3 separate regions of the Homo sapiens genome follow, and regions 2 and 3 are each linked to region 1. Evidence: promoter capture Hi-C in 16 types of primary human blood cells and fetal thymus (Javierre and others, 2016). All regions are on one chromosome and are shown on one strand. The core of a region is centred on a gene start or on the middle of the fragment in contact, and the rest is flanking DNA. Distances in the headings are between cores, read along the strand shown.

Region 1 (2,796 bases), core at 146-2,645:
GTTCTTATATATAAAAATTCTAAAGAATTCACAAGAAAAAAAAACTCTTAGAGCTAGTAAAGTCAGAAAGTTGCAGGAAAAATATCTACATAGAAGAAGCAGTTGTATTTCTATACAAAAACAATTAATCTGAAAAGGAAAATAGTTCCCTTTGCAATAGCATTAAATAAATAAATTACTTAGGAACTGTCTTAACCAATGACAAGAAACACTTGGACACTGAATTTTGCAACATCTTACTAAAGAAAATTAAAGAAGGCACCCCAGGCATGGTGGCTTATGCCTGTAATCCCAGCACTTTGTGAGGCCCAGGCAGGCGAATAACTTGAGGCCAGGAGTTCGAGATCAGCCTGGCCAACCTGGTGAAACCCCTGTCTTCACTAAAAATACAAAAATTGGCCAGGTATGGTGGTACGTGCCTGTAATCCCAGCTACTTGGGAGGCTGAGGCAGGAGAATCGCTTGAACTCAGGAGGCGGAGGTTGCAGTGAGCCAAGATTGTGCCACTGCACTCCAGCTTGGGCGACAGAGTGAGACTCTGTCTCAAAAAAAAAAAAAAAAAAATTAAAGAAGGCGCAAATAAATGGAGATATATCCATTATTAATGGATTGGGCGACTTGATATTGCAAGGCTGTCAATACCTATATCTATAGATTCAATGCAATCCTTAATCACAGTAACATTTTTCTCAGAAATGAAAAAATCCACCTGAGATTCATGTGAAATATCAAGGGACACTCTCTCCCATGGTCATATTTTAGACCTCGTCATTTTCTAGCAAATATTCCTCCATAATAATTTGCAGCACTACTCTCCAACAACTTTGACTTGTATTTCCACCTTGGTCCCACCAGCATGCTAGCATCAGTAATATTAGAACCTCGCCAATACCTACAGTCCACTGAGACGATCACCTTTTTACTCTTTCAACTCCTCGTGTACTCACAGCCTGCCAAGCACATTTCTTGTCAGGAGAGGACAGCTCACTTCTCCTAATGTCTCACTTCCCAAAATTGTGTCCCATGAAAATTTCTAGCTAGATGAAGGCAGAGAAAGAAAATATTTGATTTCTTAGGCTTTATGGAAGCGATAGGAATGGCAATAGTGGTTTGGAATGGAGACTGCACGCACCAGTCAACAGGGTGTGTCCCGAATAAGCAGTGGGTAAAGGACATTTACTGAAATGCTATCTCCAACTCCACTTCAGGAAAGCTTGCTGCAGAGTTAGAGTGATATAGTCCAAATGCTCTGTTTGAGTCGCGGGCCCTTTGTCTCACACGGGCGAGTCCGGGGAATTCTGGGAAGTGGAGTCCACACGCTCTGTGGAGGCTCGAGCACTTCCGGTCCCCAACTGTGACGTTGCTATTTCATTTACCACAGTAGTTTGAGTCATTTCCACATCTTGCGAGTCCTTCCGAACGAGTCTCCTTTCCTTGGGGCTCGCAACCACCCAATGATCGATTCAGGAGAAAAGAAGCCTGGGCGGAGAGCAGAGGTTTGGAGGGGCGCGGGCGGGGATTGCCGTTCCAGTCAGCTGAGCCTTCTGGCGTCGGGGGGCTCTGCTAGGGTCTCAGGGAGTGGGATTGGCGCGGCCCGGTGTGCCCTACTTTGACCTCGCTTAGTCCGCCTCCCTCCTCCCTACGTGTGCAGCCCCTTTCAGTGTGGTGTGGAGTGTCACTTAATGTCCGTTTATCTTCCATTGCTGGTTCGTTTGTTTGTTTGTTTTGTAACGGGACTTTTCGGACCATCCTAATGGATTCATTTTGGGACCTGAAAGAGGTAACACAAATGAGAGCCTTAAAAGCAGTCCCTGTCACTCGGTGTCTGGTGGTCTCTTGTTAATTTCCCACGAAGCCTGTCAGGTCCTCTGGTGGGGTCAGAGCTCCAGCTGCAGGGGCGCCGGCCCTTCTGCCTGATCCCTGCAGGACGCTGGATGATCCCTGACGCCTTCTGACCTCTTTTTAGGAAAGTGAGGGGAGCATTTAACTTTTATGGGGGACGGCAAAACGGTCAGGGTGTTTCACAGCTTTCTTTTTCCCCAGCCCGACCTTTCTAAAAGAGCTGCAGGAAGGGACTTCTTGGCTACTGATGGCAAAGCTCTACGTGAGTGATCCTTGGCTTTTTTTCTTTGACAGAGATGCTTACCTCAACCGAGAGTGTGTAGGATTTGTCCCTCGGGCATGGGTGTCGATAATGATTAAGCCTTAATTGGTAACTTTATTCCAAGTACTTTATACCCCAAAATACATGATCTTCACAGTGGCACTGTGGAGAGGTGCTGCTTTTTTCATTTTAAAGATGGGCGTGAGACACAGGTGGAGCAGGAGTTGAAACCTAGGCAGTCCAGGTTAGAGCCTGAGTTGATCATCTCTTGAATGCAATTCTCATTGAGGCAGAGGTACTAGCTGGGAACAGGTGGAGAACGTAAGTTAGGACTTGATTGAAGGCACCTTGAGGCAAGGCTCAGGGGCTTGGACTTCTATAGGAGTTTTTGTTTGTTTGCTTTTTGCTTTTTAATTTTTTTAACCTTATCTACTATTTTCTTTCTCTCTCTCTCTCTATATATATATATATTTTTTTTTTTACAGAGTTTCGCTCTTGTTGCTTAGGCTGGAGTGCAGTGGTGCAATCTTGGCTCACTGTAACCTCCGCCTCTCGGGTTCAAGTGATTCTCCTGCCTCAGTCTCATTTTCGTCAAAGGGCCCGCGACTCAAACAGAGCATTTGGACTATATCACTCTAACTCTGCAGCAAGCTTTCCTGAAGTGGAGTTAGAGATAGCATCTCAGTAAATGTC
Region 2 (2,796 bases), core at 206-2,705, 100 kb before region 1:
ATGTTGCCCGAGCCAGTCTCAAACTCCTGAGCTCAAGTGATCCTCCTGCCTCAGCCTCCCAAAGTGCTGGGATTACAGGTGTGAGCCACCACACTCAGCTGATGAATTCTTTAGTAGAGGTTTTTTAACCTCTACTTTAACCTCGCCTTTAACCTCTGAAATACCTGTTATTCTCTCTTGGTTTCCCATACTTAATTTGAGGCTTTTGCAATAGTATTTAAGATTACAGTGGTCCTTCCTATCCATAGTTTTGCTTTCTGTGGTTTCAGTTACCTGAAGTCAACTATGGCCCAAAAATAGGTGAGTACAGTGCAGTAAGATATTCTGAGAGAGAGAGAGAGACCATGTTTATAGAACTTTTGTTACAGTATTTTATCATTATTCTATTTTATTATAAGTTATTGTTGTTAGTCTCTTACTGTGCCTAATTTATAAATTAAGCTTTATCATAAGTATGTAGGTAAAGGAAAAACATAGTATATTTAGGGTTCAGTAATATCTGAGGTTTAAGTCATTCACTGGGGGACTTGGAAGGTATCTGCTGTGGATAAGGGGGGACTACTGTACATAGATGACTGCTTTTTTTGATAGTAAAATATGTAACATAAAATTTACCATTTTAACCATTTTTTAAGTGGTTACATTCAGTAAGTACATTTACATTGTTGTGCAGCCATCACCACTATCCATCATCAGAATTTTTTATGTACCCATTAAGTAATAATTCCCCATTCCCCCTCCCAGCCCCTGATAACCACGTTATCTCTATGAATTTGACTATATGGACTGGTTTCTAAAAGGTATAAGACCTTGCAAAATTTGGCTGTGTAGAGTGGCTCATGCCTGTAATCCTAGCACTCTGGGAGGCCAAAGTGGGAGGACTGCTTGAGGCCAAGAGTTCAAGACCAACCTGGCCAACAGAGTGATCTCTAAAGAGAAAAAAAAAAAATCTAAAAAAAAAAAAAAAGACCTTGCAAAATTTACTTTAACAGTAGGGCCTTAAAAAGACTATCATAGAGACAGAGAAAATTTAATAAAAAATCATGACTCTGCAAGATTTATGCAACTATAAATTAGATAATGTCACTGAAATTAACAAGCTATAGGAAGCACAATAATAACAACAAAAATGGTGATATTTAACTAAATACATATTAGGGACCTTATGAAGAACTTGGCACATGATGTTTCATTAAGGTACTTCACACATACCTGTGAAGAAGCTACTGTTGTATCAGTTGTGTGACCTTGGTCCAAACACCTAAACTTCTGTGCCTATGCTCAGCTATAAGAAGGGAAATGAAAACAGGATGTTAATCATAGGATTACTGTGAGGAATCAATGAGTGAATTTATGCAATGCCCTTGGCATAGTACCTGGCATTTTAGGGAGTTCTCAACAGATGATAATGACGACAATTGTATCCATTTAACAGGCGAGGAAGCTGAGGCTTGGTGAGGTCAAGAGGCAGGAACAGTACCTGAATCCAGCTTTCATACCAGAGCCAGTATTCTAAATCTTGTCTCTCTGTTGCTTCTAAAGACAAAAATAAGCAGATGGGAGTCTAAGATCTCATGGAAGGAGAAATGAGGGCTCCAGAGTTAGGGGTAAAAGACAGACACAGAAATGGAGATTGGACTCTGAAGCCAAGGGAGCTGCTTGAGGGAGTAGAGAACAGAGTTGTGAACAGTCTAGACTCCAGAACCAGCCCACCAGTACTGGAATACAGGCATGTCCAACTTGCTAGTACTTTGTGCTCTAATGTCTAATCTATAAACTGGATGTAATAATAATACCTACTTCATAGGAAGGTCAGTGAAAGTGACTAAGTATACACAAAACATGTGGAACAGTTTCTGGCAGCTTAAACAATCAATAGAAGTTACACATAAACCCATGCAGATGCTTTACATGAAACAGTCAGGGAGCCCCTCCCTTGCTGCTGTGGACCAATGTCTGTGTCCCCTCAAAATTCTTATGTTGAAGCCCTAATGTGATGTTATTGGGAGGTGGGGCCTTTAGGAGGTAATTAGGTCATGAGGGTGAAGCCTCCATAATGGGATTGCTTTCCTTGTAAGAAAAGCAAGTAACCTAGCTCTTTCTCTCTTCCTCCCAGGAAGATACAAGACAACAGCTTCTGCGAACCAGTAAGAGTGGCCTCATTAGACATTGGATTTGCCAGTGACTTGATCATGGACTTCCCAGTCTCCAGGACTGTGAGTTATAAAGGTTTGTTGTTTAAGCCACCCAGCCTATGGTATTGTTTGTTATAGCAGCACAAATGGACTAAGGCACTCACGGAGTCTGCAGCTTCACATGGCTTGATGATGGGGAAACATGGGCTGGATTCCAGATTCCACTTGACCCTTCAGCAGAGAGCCTCTGCACAGTGAAAAATGGAGTTCTTGTAGCTCTCAGGGTATGATTCTGATTCTATGGAGGGTGGAAACGAGTAAAATACCCAGATTAAAAGCTTAGTATTAGTTAATTACTGCTTGATTTATTAGTAAATTATTCTTAGTTCTCTTACTTCAGATAGAAGAACCCTTACTATTGAAAAGGGAAACATAAAACCTTCCAATCTTAGAAGAAATACTTATTTATTTATTTTTCTGAAATGGAGTCTTGCGCTGTGGCCCAGGCTGGAGTGCAGTGGAATGATCTCAGCTTACTGCAACCTCAGCCTTCCGGGTTCAAAAGATTATCCTGCCTCAGCCTCCCCAGTAGCTGGATTATGGGCACCCGCCACCATTCCTGGCTAATTTTTTTTGTTTCTTTTGTTTTTTTAGTACAGAT
Region 3 (2,796 bases), core at 170-2,669, 93 kb after region 1:
GCATGTATTTCCTTGTTTAATCATTGAAAAAACTATAATATGAAAATTATTAGAGAGGGAGTAAATAGGTGAACTTGTCCAAGGTCATGTGACCAGGAAGGCACAGAGCCTTGGGATGTGCTTTTAGGCACACTGTCTGCAGATCATAGATCAATGCTGCAATCAATGTATGTAGTTTATGCCTTGAGAGTACACAGGATGTACTGTATAGCTGTCCCACACAGGTTACCACAAGCTTTGTTAGTTTGGTGGCAGATATTAAAGAAAAATGATAACATTCAGGGTTCAAGTATGAGAGAGAACAATGGGAATTATCAGGCAAGACTGGGACTGAATTGTTAAATGTTACTGGGGCAGTTGGCAAGATTCACTGAAACCTATATACGTGCAGCCCAGGATGCTGCATTTAGAGTCCTACAGGGTTACTTACAAGGAGACTCAGTAAGTGCACAAAGTAAACCTACAGGAGGTCTTTTCCATCACTGCACTTCTGGTGGAGCTCAGGAAAATCCATCATTATCAGGATACAGACAGAATGAATAGCAAATCTATGAGCTGGCTGGGCGCAGTGGCTCATGCCTGTAATCCCAGCACTTTGGGAGGCCGAGGCAGGCGGATCACCTGAGGTCAGGAGTTTGAGACCAGCCTGGCCAATGTGGTGAAACCCCATCTCTATTAAAAATACAAAAATTAGCCAGGCATGGTGGCAGGCACCTGTAATCCCAGCTACTTGGGAGGCTGAGGCGGGAGGATCACTTGAACCTGGGAATCGGAGGTTGCAGTGAGCCAAGATCATGCCACTGCACTCCAGCCCGGGCAACAGAGCAAGACTGTCTCAAAATAAATAAATAAATAAAATAAAATAATAAAAAAGGAAGTCTGTGTGTTGACCTATGTCTCTCAAGATCCAAAACAGCTTCTCATTCCTCCCCTCTGTCTGCTCAGTGCCACCCCTCTCTCAGTAGTCATTGGTCATGAGACTGAGGTTGCATATGTTCGATGCTGTAGGAGGCAGTGACCTTCAAGGACGTGGCTGTGGTCTTCACTGAGGAAGAGCTGAGGCTGCTGGACCTTGCCCAGAGGAAACTGTACCGAGAAGTGATGCTGGAGAACTTCAGGAACCTGCTCTCAGTGGGTGAGGACAGGCACCCTTTGTAAGGGAACATCAGGACCAGGAGTGGCTTTGTATCCTAGAGTGTTCAAGTTTGAGTATGCATTGGGAACCTAAGTTTCCAGTAAATTTTACTTAGATTTTTTTCTAGGATATATTGGCACTAAGCACATGACTTTTCACGTTCACAGGGCATCAATCACTCCACAGAGATACTTTCCACTTCCTAAAGGAAGAAAAGTTTTGGATGATGGAGACAGCAACCCAAAGAGAAGGGAATTTAGGTAAGAAGCAAGCAACTCTGTGTCCTTGTGCGTGACTCTCCCATCGGTTTCACTTCTGTCCATTGCCCAGCTCTGTTGTCCTGGTCTAAATGGCCAGACCTCTTTCCTGAATTATTACAGCTGACTTTCGGCTGGTTTCCCTGCTCCCACTTTTCCCACCCTGACATCTGTTTTCCTCATGGCAGCCAATGTATTCCTTAGGAAAGTCAGACTGCCATTCCTCGGCTCAAAAGCCTTTCTGGCTTCTTTTTTTTTTTTTTGAGATGGAGTCTCGCTGTGTCGCCCAGGCTGGAGTGCAGTGGTGCAATCTCGGCTCACTGCAAGCTCCGCTTCCCGGGTTCACGCCATTCTCCTGCCTCAGCCTCCTGAGTAGCTGGGAATACAGATGCCCGCCACCACGCCCGGCTAATTTTTTGTATTTTTAGTAGAGACGGGGTTTCACCGTGTTAGCCAGGATGGTCTCGATCTCCTGACCTCGTGATCCGCCCGCCTTGGCCTCCCAAAGTGCTGGGATTACAGGCGTGAGCCACCGCGCCCGGCTGGCTTCTTATGTTTACTTAAGTTACAAGTGTTTTAAGTGCCTTTTAGAGACCATGTGATCTGCTTTTCATCCCCCACCACCTCTCTGACTACATCTCCTGTCCTCTCCCTTTTGCCTTGTCCTTCCAGCCACGTTGTCCTCCCTACCGTTTCTCTGACCTGCCAAGGACACTGTATTGCCTGTTGTAGTAACCAATGACCACACATTTAGTCGACTAAACAACAAAAATTTATCATCTTTCTGTTCTTTAGGCCTGAAGTCTGACACGTCTCACCGGACAATTATCAAGCTGTCTGTAGGTGTTTGTTTCTTTCTGGATGCTCTTGAGGAGAAGCCTTTATTTTGGTTTACCAGTCTCTAGGCATTCCTTGGCTCTTGTTTCCCTTCCTCCATCTTCAAAGGCAGCTACTTTGCATTTCTGACCCTTCTTCCATAGTCATGCTCACTCTGCCACTCTTCTTATGCCTCTCTCTCCTGCCTTTCAGGTTCCTTGTAATTGTGTTGGTTACCCCTGGATGATTCACAATGACCTCTCTTTCTTGTTAGCTGATTAGTGACCTTAATTGCATCTGCAATCCCAGTCCCCCTTGCTGTGTAATATAACATGTTCATAGGTCTTGGGTACTGGATGTGGACATCTTTTATGAATCATTGTTCTGTCTACTACTGAAGCTTCTGCCTCAGAGCCCTTACTTGCTTTTCTGTCTGATCAGAATACTCTTTCACCTCAAAACTTTCTGGCTTCTCCTTTAAGCATATTCAAGTCTCTGTTCAGTTTTAGAGAGGCCATTTCCAACCACCCTATTTAAAATACTATTCTAGGCCAGGCGCGGTAGCTCACGCCTGTAATCCCACTACTT

The links. The method cuts DNA at HindIII sites, captures the fragments that hold promoters and counts their contacts. A CHiCAGO score of 5 or more calls a contact.
Region 2: a fragment that was not itself captured here is called in contact with the fragment with the promoter of ZNF222 in region 1 in 1 of 17 cell types (total CD8 T cells); the score reaches 5.4 in total CD8 T cells.
Region 3: a fragment that was not itself captured here is called in contact with the fragment with the promoter of ZNF222 in region 1 in 7 of 17 cell types (non-activated CD4 T cells, total CD4 T cells, total CD8 T cells and 4 more); the score reaches 8.4 in non-activated CD4 T cells.

Annotation. Positions count from the first base shown.
Region 1 is chr19:44,023,984-44,026,779 of GRCh38, forward strand. It overlaps ZNF222 (zinc finger protein 222), which reads left to right and starts at 1,396. Exons shown (of 4, transcript NM_001129996.2): 1 at 1,396-1,495. The coding sequence starts at 1,454. ZNF222-DT (ZNF222 divergent transcript) reads right to left here and starts at 1,299. Exons shown (of 3, transcript NR_184028.1): 1 at 1,132-1,299; 2 at 915-1,036. RefSeq lists enhancers at 1,362-1,411, 1,642-1,691. The HindIII fragment of the contact is 1,542 bases long and covers 1,211-2,752 here.
Region 2 is chr19:43,923,026-43,925,821 of GRCh38, forward strand. ZNF45 (zinc finger protein 45) reads right to left here. Exons shown (of 10, transcript NM_003425.4): 4 at 2,300-2,433; 5 at 1,377-1,536; 6 at 1,213-1,285. It overlaps ZNF45-AS1 (ZNF45 antisense RNA 1), which reads left to right. Exons shown (of 3, transcript NR_184050.1): 2 at 2,117-2,229. Among named protein-coding and RNA genes, the nearest start is that of ZNF45, 11 kb to the right of the region's middle. The HindIII fragment of the contact is 2,032 bases long and covers 440-2,471 here.
Region 3 is chr19:44,117,180-44,119,975 of GRCh38, forward strand. ZNF225 (zinc finger protein 225) reads left to right here. Exons shown (of 5, transcript NM_013362.4): 3 at 1,009-1,135; 4 at 1,303-1,395. Among named protein-coding and RNA genes, the nearest start is that of ZNF225, 5.2 kb to the left of the region's middle. The HindIII fragment of the contact is 2,373 bases long and covers 234-2,606 here.